2 separate regions of the Homo sapiens genome follow, and region 2 is linked to region 1. Evidence: promoter capture Hi-C in human tissues and cell types (Jung and others, 2019). All regions are on one chromosome and are shown on one strand. The core of a region is centred on a gene start or on the middle of the fragment in contact, and the rest is flanking DNA. Distances in the headings are between cores, read along the strand shown.

Region 1 (6,017 bases), core at 1,273-3,772:
TCCCCAAGGGGAATCGGCCTGCAGGGAGCTGACTGGGGGCCCTGGTAGAAGCTGCCTGTTTGTGTTCGAGCTGCAGCCTTTTCTCAGAGCGGCCTCCAGGTGCTGGGCAAAGGCCACTCAGGTCTAAGCAGGGATGAGATGGTAGCTTCTGCCCACAGGTGCTGACAGGGTAACTGAGGTCATTCCCGGGACCTGGCGACCCAAGTCTGGCACCACCTCACCCATGCGGGCCCTCCCTGTAGTAACAGGGTAGGGCTTTTCTCCAAGAAAGGAGGTGACCCCTGTTGTCAAGCTTTGCCCACCTCACCCACACAGTGTCCTGAGGGGAGAGCCCCTGGCTGCCCTCTCCTCCCCACCCTTCCCCGCCCTGGGCACAGTGCCTCTGGGGCAGCAGCCTCTGCCTGTCTCTGTGAAGCATCTATATCTTCTGCAGGACAGAAACCAAGCTTTGTGCTTCATGCCATCCTCACCCACAGCCAGAGTGCGTGGGGGCTCCATGGATGCCCCCAGGGAATGGTGGGGAGGAATTTCCCCTGTCAGCCACATTCCTGCAAAACTCCTTTATTTATGTCCAGCTGGCTGCTGTGAGCTGTTGACAGTGATGACAGGCAGAAGATGCACATGCACACGTGCGCCCATGCAAGACCTCAACACCATGTGTGAAGAGACGCATGTGCATGTGTGCACAAACACTACACCCATGCCGGCACCTGCACATGCACACACACAGACACTTGTGCACACACACCACACATACATTCACACACAGACACGTGCACACACTACACATGTGCAAATGCAGGTACAGAGAAACACACAGCATGTGCACAGATGCAAGACACACACACATACAGGAGCGCTCCCCTTCCTTCCATTATGCGCACCCAGCCTCCTGGACCTGCCTTCCTGGGTCCTGACTCTCTCCCAGATGTCATCTATAGGCCAGCCTCAGTGAAGGCCCCGACCCACGGGTGCCCTTTTACCTAAACCCCACTATTCCCAATAGCGTTCCCTTCCTACCATGGAGTGGGGGCTGTCACCACTGTGACATCCTCATCCAGTCCTTCCCCCGTCCTAATGACAACATCCCTGCAGGTGACCGACTCCAAGCATCAGCCTCTCCCTGCCCACCTGACCAGGCGCCACCCTCTCCACGGGCCAGGAAACATCCTCCCCAGTGCCATCAACCGCCCCACCTTGTGCCTTGCTTCTGAGAACAACGGAACCACCAGCCACCTGCGTCCCCACCTGCCTCCTGCCCCGGACTGTCCCCATCAGGAAGGTTTGCCAGGACTGCAGGGACCCTGAGCGCCCTGAGGGAGGCTGTGGCCCCGGCGAACACCAGGCTCAGCACTCAGCCTGTGACCTGGGCCAGTGGAAGTCCCCTTCTCAGGGCCTCAGTTTTCTGACCTATGGGAAGGACAGTCCCCAGACCGCAAGAGAAAGCAGCCGCCGAGGTTGGTGCAGAGCGGGTTCTCACTACACAGAAGGGCTCATTGCTCTGCGTCTTCTCTGCAGAGGTGCCCGTGCCCATTTCTCCACCACCGCCCTGCTTCCCCAACCCACAGTGCAGACGCGACCCCACAGGATGGCCGTCCTCTGGGCCGGGTGCTCACCCTCACTGCCCACCACAGGGGCCCAGGGCAGATGTGCTTTTGGGTCCTACCTCTCTCGCCTCCCCCCTACACCCAGGCTGCCCACCCTGCTCCCAGCTCTCAGCTCCCAACTCGCCGCTTACAACAAGAACACGCCACATTTGTGCCCACGATGTTGTCTGTAGGCCACCCAGGGCTCCAGGATCATCCTGCAGGGATGCAGGCTGTCCACCTGTTGCAGCTTCTCCACATCCTCCGGCAGCATCACACACACCATGCGTGGTCCTCCCAAGTTGTACCTGTGGGGCCAAGCAGGAGGCCCTGCTGGACGGGGTCATGTCCCTCGTGGCCCCACCCTGCAGTCCCAATCCAAAGTGTCTCCTGTCCACCCTCCCTGCTCCTGGATTAGCGGCTTCACAGCTAAAGCCCTCCTGCTGGCTCCCTGGAACCTTTCAACTTTAGTGCTTCTGAGTCCTGCCCTCTCTGCAGTGAGCTGGGGTTTTCTCTGCACTATCCCCTGCCCTGGCAGCACCACAGACCAGCATGTGCTGCACTCCTTCCCCATCCTCCAAAGGATGCAGAGTGCCGGGACCTGCTGGGAATGGCAGTGCTGAGTGCCTGGCAGGGTCCTGGGCAGCAGGGGCAGGGATCTGGGTGTTCCCAGCGAGGGCCAGGGAGGGCTTTACCTGAAAATGGGCCCCAGCTCCTGGAAGGTCTGGTGCATCTCCAGGTGCAGGTGCTCATAACCCTGCTCCCTCCAGATCTGCAGCAGCCTCAGCCACCTGTTGCCTGGATGCTGGGGCATGGCTTCAAACGGCAGCACCGTCCTAGGGGCCCGAGCGGCTCTAGTGCCCAGTGCCCGTGCCCTTTGCAGGGACAGCCAGGGCGCTGCCACGCACACCTCTGCCTTTGCCCTGAGTGCCATTCCAATGCTCCCTCCACCCTGTTCAGCCCAAATCCTTTTATCTCACCCAGGAACCTGCTCTGGAAACATATCACGTCATGGGAGAACTGGCTCTGGACCTGCCTGAGACTCTCAGAGCGAAGGTCAAGGCTGGAGGCCCCCAGCCAAAGGTAGATGAAGGAGAAGTCAGGTGCCTAATTCCCCATTGCTGCAAGTCCTGCTGGTCTGAGGATGCTGAGAAAAGGCGTGGGGTCTGGACTGGGGGTCCATGCTGGTGGAAGGTGGTGGGACCTGGCCTCTCCTTTCTCCAGGGCTGAGAGGAGTAAAATGGATGGGGACTTTATCTTATCGTGAGATGAGAGGGAGCCTTGGATTCTTTTAATAGACTTTATTTTTATACCACAGATTTAGTTCATTGCAAAATTGATCAAAAACTGCAGAAAATGTCCACGTACCCCCTGCCCTGACACAGGTACACCCTCCACCACAGGAGCGCACTGGTTCCATGTGAGGAATCTCGATACGTTGTTATCAACCAGGGTCCTGGAGTCACATGGGGTCTCCTCCTGGTGGTCAACATGCTGTGGGTTTTGACAAATGTATGTAATTTGTATCCCTCCTTGCAGGATCCTAGGAGTATTTTCACTGTCTTAAAAAGAGGAAAAGAAAACCTGTGCTCTGCCTGCTCATCCCTCCTGCCCCAGTCCCTGACATCTCCGATCTTTTTATCATCACCATGCTTTGGCCTTTTCCAAAATGTTGTATAGTTGGAATGACACCGTTTGTAGCCTTTTCAAAGTGACGTATCTCAGTTAGTAATATGCGTTTAAGGTTCCTCCATTTCTTTTCGTGGCTTGATAGCTAATTTCCTTTTTTTTTTTTTTTTCTAGAGGCTGGGTCTCACTTCTTTAGTGGTTGCCCTAGAGTTTGCAATATACGCTTAAAACTCATCTCTCCAACTCCACCTTCATATAACACTATACAGCTTCAGAGGTAATGCAAGCACTTTATAATCATCAGATATTCTTAGGCTGGGCATAGTGGCTCATGTCTGTCATCCCAGCACTTTGGGAGGCTGATGCAGGTGGATCACCTGAGGTCAGGAGTTCGAGACCAGCCTGGCCAACATGGCAAAACCCTGTCTCTACTAAAAATACAAAATTAGCCAGGTGTGGTGGCGCATGCCTGTAATCTCGGCTTCTCAGCAGGCTGAGTCAAGATGAATGCTTGAATCAAGGAGGCGGAGGTTGCAGTGAGTTGAGATCATCCCACTGCACTCCAACCTGGGCAGCAAAGCAAGACTCCATCTCAAAATAAATAAATAATAAGATATTTTTAATTCCACTCACCCATCCCTTGCATCATTGCTGTCCTTCATTTCACATATACATAACTATGATCATCAAATACACTTTCTGGCTTTTATTTATTTATTTTTATTATTTATTTATTTATTTATTTATTTATTTTTGAGACAGAGTCTCACTCTGTCGCCCAGGCTAGAGTGCAATGGTGTGATCTCGGCTCACTGCGACCTCTGTCTCCCGGGTTCAAGCAATTCTCCCGCCTCAGCCTCCCAAGTAGCTGGGATTACAGGCATGTGCCACCACCACGCCCAGCTAATTTTTGTATTTTTAGTAGAGACGGGGTTTCACCGTGTTGGCCAGGCTAGTCTCGAACTCCTGACCTCAGGTGATCTGCCCACCTCGGCCTCCCAAAGTGCTGGGATTACAGGTGTGGTGAGTCACCGCGCCCGGCCTATTTTTATTGTTGTTGTTTTGTTTTAGCAAACTCTTAGATCAATTAAGATTAAGAAAAAATAAAAGACTTCATTTTCTCTTTACTGATTCCTTCTGAAATGCTCTTCCTTTCTTTATGTAGCTCAGGGTTGCTGACCTGTATCATTTTCTTTCTCTCTGCAGAACTTTTAAAAAACATTTCTGGCAAGTCAGTTCTATTGGCAGCGAATCCCCTCAATTTTTATTTACCTGAGAAAATATTTATGTTCACTTTTGAAGGATAATTTCACAGGATGCAGAATTCTAGGTTGATGTATTTTCTTTTTTCTTCTAACACTTGAAATGTTTCCCTCCACTGTCTTCTTGCTTGCATGGTTTCTGAGGGTAAGTCACATGTAATTCTTAGCTTTACTCCTATATAGATAAGGTGTCCCCCACCCAACCCCTGGTTTCTTTTTCATCTTTGATTTTTCCAAAGTTTGAGTATGATATGCTTAGGTGGAGACGTTTGTTTTGTTTTGTTTTCTGCTTGGTGTTCTCTGAGCTGCTTGAATCTGTGGTTTGGTGTCTGACATTAATCATTATTGATTCAAATGTTTCTTCTGTTCCTTTCTTTTTTCCTCCTTCCAATGTCCCCGTTATGTGTATGTTACACCAGCAGTAGTTGTTTCACAGTCCTCAGTATTCTGTTCCGTTTTCTTCTTTTTGCCTTTCAGCTTCCAGTTTCCATTGACATATTCTCAAGCTCGGAGATTCTTTCCTCAGCTGTGTTCGGTCCACTAATAAGCCTATCTAAGGCACGCTTTGTTTCTGTCACAGTGTTTTTGATCTCCAGAATTTCTTTTTTCACCCATCCTTGAATTTTCATCTGGATGTCCACATTCCCCATCTGGTCTTGCGTGTTGTCTACTTTTCCATGAGGGTCCTTAGCGTATTAATCACTGTTGTTTAAAATTCCCAGTTGATCATTCCAGGTCCCTGCCATATCTGAGCCTCCTTGTAGTATTTACTCCATCACTTCAAACCTTGGCTTTTGCCTTTTAGTATGCCGTATCATTTTTTATTAAGCCCCAGACATAATATACTGCATAAAAGAAACTGCTGCAAATAGGTGCCTTTGATGATGCAGAGGTAAGGTGTGCGGAGAGGGGAGTGTGTTGTGGTCCTGTGAGTAGGTCTGAGTCTTTCAGTGAGCCTGTGTCCCCAACCCGTGAACATTACAAGGGCTTCTCAGTGTTTCCTTGACATAAATAGACAGGTTGAGCAGTAAGGGCTGGGGCTGTGTGTGGCTCTTCTCACATGTGGCACGCTACACGGACTGGGGTTGGATGTCTCTCTTCTTTCCCAGATAGTTCAGCTCTGATAAAACCCAGCAGCTTAGGCTCTGGCAAGACAGTCTCTCTGAAAGGCTGGCCTTTTAAAGAACAGAATGCTCTGGTGTATTTCATAATGACCATTCTTTTTCTCTTGCTGCCTGACATAGACGAGCTTTTCTGATATTTGCGGTGAGCACCTCGTAGAGCTTCTGGAGGTGAAACTCACATAAGTGAGTGCCCGGGTTCCTGACTGACCTTAGCTCTTACGCTTGTGCACACTGAGCCCCAGAAGCTCTTCTGGGATTGCTCTGGATTTTTTTTCTTGTCACTAGCCCTCAAGAAGCCTGCCCTTGGTGAGTGGCAATTCTCCATTTTCACCTGTCTGACTCTCCAGTCTTGGGGGTGGCAGTTTGCTGTGTGGTCTCACTTCTCCTGGGAATCTAAGAAGAGTTGCTGATTTTGG
Region 2 (6,017 bases), core at 1,579-4,078, 210 kb after region 1:
ACATTACACATACACCCACACATGTACACACACCCTCACACATACACATACCTCCACACATGTACACACACCCTCACACGTGCATACATGCACCCTCAAATGTATGCACCCCACACATGTATACACACCCCCACACATGTATACACACCCCCACACGTAGCACACACCCTCACACATGTACACACGTGTGCACACACCCTCACACGTACACTCATACACACACGCACCCTCACACACATGTACACACCCCCACACATGTATACCCTTAAACGTACACCTTCACACATGTATACACTCACATGTACACACCTCACACATGTACACATCCTCACATGTACGCACACACCCTCACATGTACACAAACCCCCACACACATACACCATGACACATGTAAACACACATACACCCACACATGTACACACTCACACATACACATGCACCCTCACACGTACACACATACCTTCACACATGTACACACAACCTCACACATGTACACGTGCACCCATAAACGTACACACCCATGCACACACCCACATACATGTGCACACACCCTCACATGTACACAACCCTCACATATGTACACACACGTACAAATACACCATGTACACTCACATGTATACACACTCACCCTTACACGTGTACACATGCACACCCTCACACGTGCACACACCCCCAAACATGTATGCATCCTCACATGTACATGCACACGCACACATGCATGCCCTCGTGTGTACACGTGCGCACACACACCCTTGAACACATATACATCTTCACACATGTACACACACCCTCACATGTACACACATGCACCCTCAAACGTACAGATCCTCACACATGTACACACACCCTCACACATGTACACACACCCTCACACATGTACACACCCTCACACATGTATACGTACGCACACCCCCTCAAACGTACACACCCTCACACATGTACATGCACACACATGCACACATGCATGCCCTCGCATGTACAGGCACACCCTAATACATCCTCACACATGTACGCACACAAACCCTCACACGTACACACACCCTCACATTTACACACTCAAACGTACACACATCCTCACACATGTACACACACCCTCGCACATGTATACATATGCACACCCTCACACGTACGCACACCCCCTCAAACATGCACACATACACGCACACACATGCCCTCACATGTACATGCACACACCATCAAACATGTACACATGCACACTCGTACACACACCCCCACACACACACTCACACACGTACACACACCCACATATGTACACACCCTCACACACATGTACACACACCCTCACACATGTACACACCCTCACACGTACACACATGCACCCTCACATGTACAGCCTCACACATGTACATGCACCCACACATGTAACACACCCTCACATGTAACACGTCACACGTACACATGCATCCTCACACACACACCCTCACACATGTACACACCCTCACACGTGCACACATGCACTCCCACATGTACCCCCCACCCCCCCACGTACACATACAGGTACACACCCCTCACACATGTATGCACACACCCACACGTACATTCACATACATGTGCACACACCTTCACATGTACACACAGACCCTCACACTGTATACATATGCATACCCACACGTACACACACCCTCACATATGTACATGCACACATACACATGCCCTCACATGTACACACACACCCTCAAATGTACACACATCCTCACACATGTATACACACGCACCCTCACATGTACACAGCCCTCACACATGTACACACCCTCAAACATGTACACACATCCTCATACACATGCACACCCTCACAAATGTACATGCACACGCATGCCCTCATATATGCACGAGGACACACCCTCAAACATGTACACACACACATCGGCACACATGCATACACATGCCCACACACTCATGTACACACATACACACCCTCACACATGTACATACACCCTCACACACACCCTGATAAATGTACACACACACCACACACCCTCACATATGTATACACACACCCTCACACATGCACACACGTGTACACACATGGAAAGTGTTACCATTTGCAACCCATCCATCCTCCCCTGGGGATGCTCTTGGAGAAAGAAATCAGACAAAAGAAAAGAATGTCCTTGTAAACACGCTAATGAGAGCTCCTGGAGGTGTCGACTGTGAGCACAGAAGAGCCTTCTGTTCAGGATTAAACACATCTGGGCTTATGGCACACGGCCCACTGGAAAATGTCAGTGCCTCTGGCAATTTCTAGAGTTTAAAGGGAAAAAGTTTCATAACGGAAAGAGCCCCCTTTGGGTAAGAGCTGCCCCTCCTGTACCACGGGGAGCTTCCTACCCTAAACCTTGATGCAGCGTGCCTCCATGTGTCAGGGACGGGGGTGGGGGTCGGCGAGTGGGCAGTCCCAGTGGTCCCCTGGCTTCCCCTGGCTCCCAGGCAAACGAGACCATCCCGCTCTGCGTGCTGTCTCCGGTGGGCACCACGAGCAGCATGGCTGTTTATTATCTAAGCTGAGGTTCTCTGAGGCAAGATAAGGGGGCGCGGGAGAAGCTTGCTGAGGACGAGGCTCCAGGTGGCTGTCAACCTGTCCCTGATACAAAACGCTGACAGCCTTGGGGCTGGCCACAGGGAGCACACCTTACCGAGGGGACGGAGAGGAAGCCGACCTGGGGCGGGGAGCTGGCCAAAGACCGGCACAAGGGAGGCGAGAGAAACAGCTCTTCCATGGCAGGTGCCACTGACACCCAGACAGAAACAAGGCCACTGGAAGAAGCAGCTGGGGCACAAGAAAGAAACCAGACCCGGTCCTCGGGTCAGTGCAGTCTCCTCTCTCCAGTGGCCAATTAAACAGATGTGACATTCATCCAAAAAGTAACTCAGCTGAGAAACCTGACTGGCTGCAAACCCATGCTGCGGGTGGAAGGGCATGGCAGGCGGCTGCGGAAACCCGAGGGTCCTCTGAGAAGAGCCAGGACATTTGGGGAGAGCGGCAGGCAAAGCCCGATGGCTCAGGATGGGCACAGTTTCCTAAATTATCAGTGCGAGGGGCGGGCACACCACTGATTCTAGATACCACTGCATGGAAGTGATGGTCAGGGCCAAGAACCAGTCCCCAAGACGCTGCAAGCTCTTGTGATCAAATGCTTCCAGGTGGGTCCATACGTCACTTGCTGCAGGTGGCAAAGGTGGGGGTTTTACCCTGAGAGGAGTGACTGCCCCCCACCAACCCACAAATGGCATCTTGCTTCCAAAGCTGTTGGGAAGTTACAAGTGCAGGTGACCCTAGGCTGGCTTTACGGTGAACAAGGGGACGCCTAATTTAATGCCATTGACACCAATGTTGCCACTAAACAGAAGCCCCTAAGACTGAAACTGTATAGGTTTTTGCAAAATTACATTCCTCATCCAGAAATCCTGTGATTCTAGTCACAGTGTCACTGGGGGAAAGACCTCGATGTGAAAGGGCCCTGCCCAGAAACAAGCTGGGACATGGCCCAGGCAGCCCACGGGGCCACTCAGGTGCTACTGGGAGGGCCCAGGTCTTGGTCAGAAAAGATTGGCTTTTGGCAGAAATGCAAATCACGTTTGGGGCCCAGGGGCTACCTGATGCATTTCTTTCATGTTGCCTGGGAGACCACCGTGAGCTGGCAGCCGTGCTGGGAAGATGCCCGTGCTGGGGCCCTCGCTGCACTACGAGCCACCACAACCCCACAGTGTGGGTCAGTGCCTGTTGACTGCCTGGCAGCTCCAGAGGGGTAGGAGTGCGAGGGCTCGGCTGGGCGGGGTCTCACAGACTGCAGTTGAGGTGTGACAGCTGGGCTCCTGGGTGGAGGCCCAGGGCTGTTCGGATGGATGGCAGACTCTTTTCCCGGCTGTAGAGCTGCATTCTCCGTCTCCTTGCTGGCGGTCAGCAGGACCTGGTCTCCACCGTTCAGGCTGCCATCTCGCACGGCCCCACAGCACTCTTCCCTGGCCTCTGACTCTTCTTCTGCTTTTAAAGGGCTGGCGTGATTCGACCAGGCCCACCTGCATCCACGGACCCTAAGGTCGGCTGACCTGGGACACACGGCACATCTGCAACGCCCCTTCCCGGCAGCACCCACGGGTATTGGAGGAGTGGTAGGGGATGGGGGAAGGAAGCTTGGGTGGGTGGGTCATTGGAACTCTTGTGCATGGAAGAGCGTTAGATGATCCCGACACCAGAAAAGTTGGCCACGTCCCAGGTGGCGTGAAGAAGCACTGGAGAAAGAGGGGCAACCCATGAAAGCCCCTTGGCGGGTTTAATGTCCAGCGGCAACAGTGAGGGGCCCAGCGGGGCATGGGTGACAGGGACCAGGTTACCAAGGGTCTGGGCGGGGAATGGCAGGGCATGTGAGGGGTATGGTGGGGAATGGCGGGGAATGGCGGGGCATGGGAGGGGCATGGGAGGGACATAGGAGGGACATAGGAGGGGCATGGCGGGGCATGGTAGGGCATGGCAGAGAATGGCGGGGAATGAGAGGGGAATGGTGGGGAATGGCGAAAAATGGCGGGGGAATGGGAGGGGCATGGAAGGGAATGGGAGGGAATGGGAGAGGCATGGCGGGGAATGGCGGGGCATGGGAGGGACATAGGAGGGGCATGGGAGGGACATAGGAGGGGCATGGCGGGGAATGGCAGGGAACGAGAGGGGAATGGTGAGGAATGGCGGCAAATGGCGGGGGAATGGGAGGGGCATGGCGGGGAATGGCAGGGCATGGGAGGGACATAGGAGGGGCATGGTGGGGAATGGCAGGGAGTGGGCTGCACAGAGACCAGCTTGCTTTGCTGCCCAGAGGGCTGTAAAGCAGCCCCCGCGGACCTCCTGGCCTGGCCCCTGCATCAGGCGGTCCCCCAGCCGGCAGAGCAGGCTGCCTGGCCCGGACTCTTCCCATGCCGGGGGCCCTTCTGCTGTTTGTAAATCAGCTTCCCCACGCCACACAGGTGGAGGCAGGACAGGCAACCTCCCTAATGCGGGAGCTGAAAAGGAGTGAAAAAGGAGTCAGGCCCCTGCTCTGGGGGCGTTTAGGGATTTGCCAACTCGGGCTGGACAACGGCCCCGCAGGATGCCAGGCAAATGCACCCCAGAGAACTGGACAATTGGAAAATCCCCAGGGTGCCCTCAGGAATGGGAATTCCTGCCAAAAACTCCTGTTGCCAGCTCAGAAGGGGTTGAATGGTAGCGCCTTGGTCAGATCCCAGAATGCGCCCAGCAGGTTAGGGAAGGAGCCAGCAGGAGGGAGCATGGGGTCCCCTTGTGCCCAGCGCAACAACTAGCATGAGAAGAAACCACATCCACCGCTGACCAGAAAGCATTTGCAAATAGCTTTGGGTGGCACCCCCGAAGGACAAGGCCTGGCCACAGCAGGCAAGGGGGACCCTGGGTGCCTATGGCCTATCAGGAGGCCCGGAACCAAGGGAGCACTCAGGACACACCAAGCAATACAGGACACACCAAGGAGCTCTTCCCATCCCAACACAGCCACAGGCACTCTTGCACCAGATGTGGGCAGGGCCTTGTTTCCTGCACACCAAGCAGTGCTGCAGGACACTGTCTGAGCATCCTACGGTTTAAGTCATTTCCCACCGCATCCGCCTGGAGGTAGCGTCAGATCCCACAGATCGAGGGCTCAGTCCCGTGCAAGGGGCCCCACTTCTGATGCCAGTTGCAAGCCCCGGGTGTGGCTTCTGACGGAACTGCCATGAATCAGGGTTCCCACAACCCCCTCCTCCGGTTTGATGAATTGCTGGAGTGGTTCACAGGACTCAGGGACACGCCGCCCTGCGTTTACCCATTTATGACACAGGCTGTGACGAAGGTGCGGAGGCACGGGGGGTGGAGGAGACAGGCACGTACATGTGCAGCTTCCAGACAGCCCCAGGCCTCCACCCAACATCCGCGCATTGGAGATGGGAAGTTCCTTGGGTTTTGCAAGGCACAGGGGAGAATGGCAGAGCTCCTGTGCCCTCCTGGGCGCCGTCCTCCA

What was found. Contacts are between HindIII fragments. The study calls those that stand out against the background at their distance.
Region 2: a fragment that was not itself captured here is called in contact with the fragment with the promoter of CYP11B2 in region 1 in 2 of the 25 tissues and cell types used here (pancreas and thymus).

Annotation. Positions count from the first base shown.
Region 1 is chr8:142,915,321-142,921,337 of GRCh38, forward strand. It overlaps CYP11B2 (cytochrome P450 family 11 subfamily B member 2), which reads right to left and starts at 2,523. Exons shown (of 9, transcript NM_000498.3): 1 at 2,282-2,523; 2 at 1,739-1,894. The coding sequence starts at 2,520. RefSeq lists a promoter at 2,522-4,542 and an enhancer at 3,529-3,810. The HindIII fragment of the contact is 14,293 bases long and covers 1-6,017 here.
Region 2 is chr8:143,123,190-143,129,206 of GRCh38, forward strand. No RefSeq gene overlaps it. Among named protein-coding and RNA genes, the nearest start is that of LY6H, 34 kb to the right of the region's middle. RefSeq lists an enhancer at 3,705-4,264. The HindIII fragment of the contact is 4,563 bases long and covers 548-5,110 here.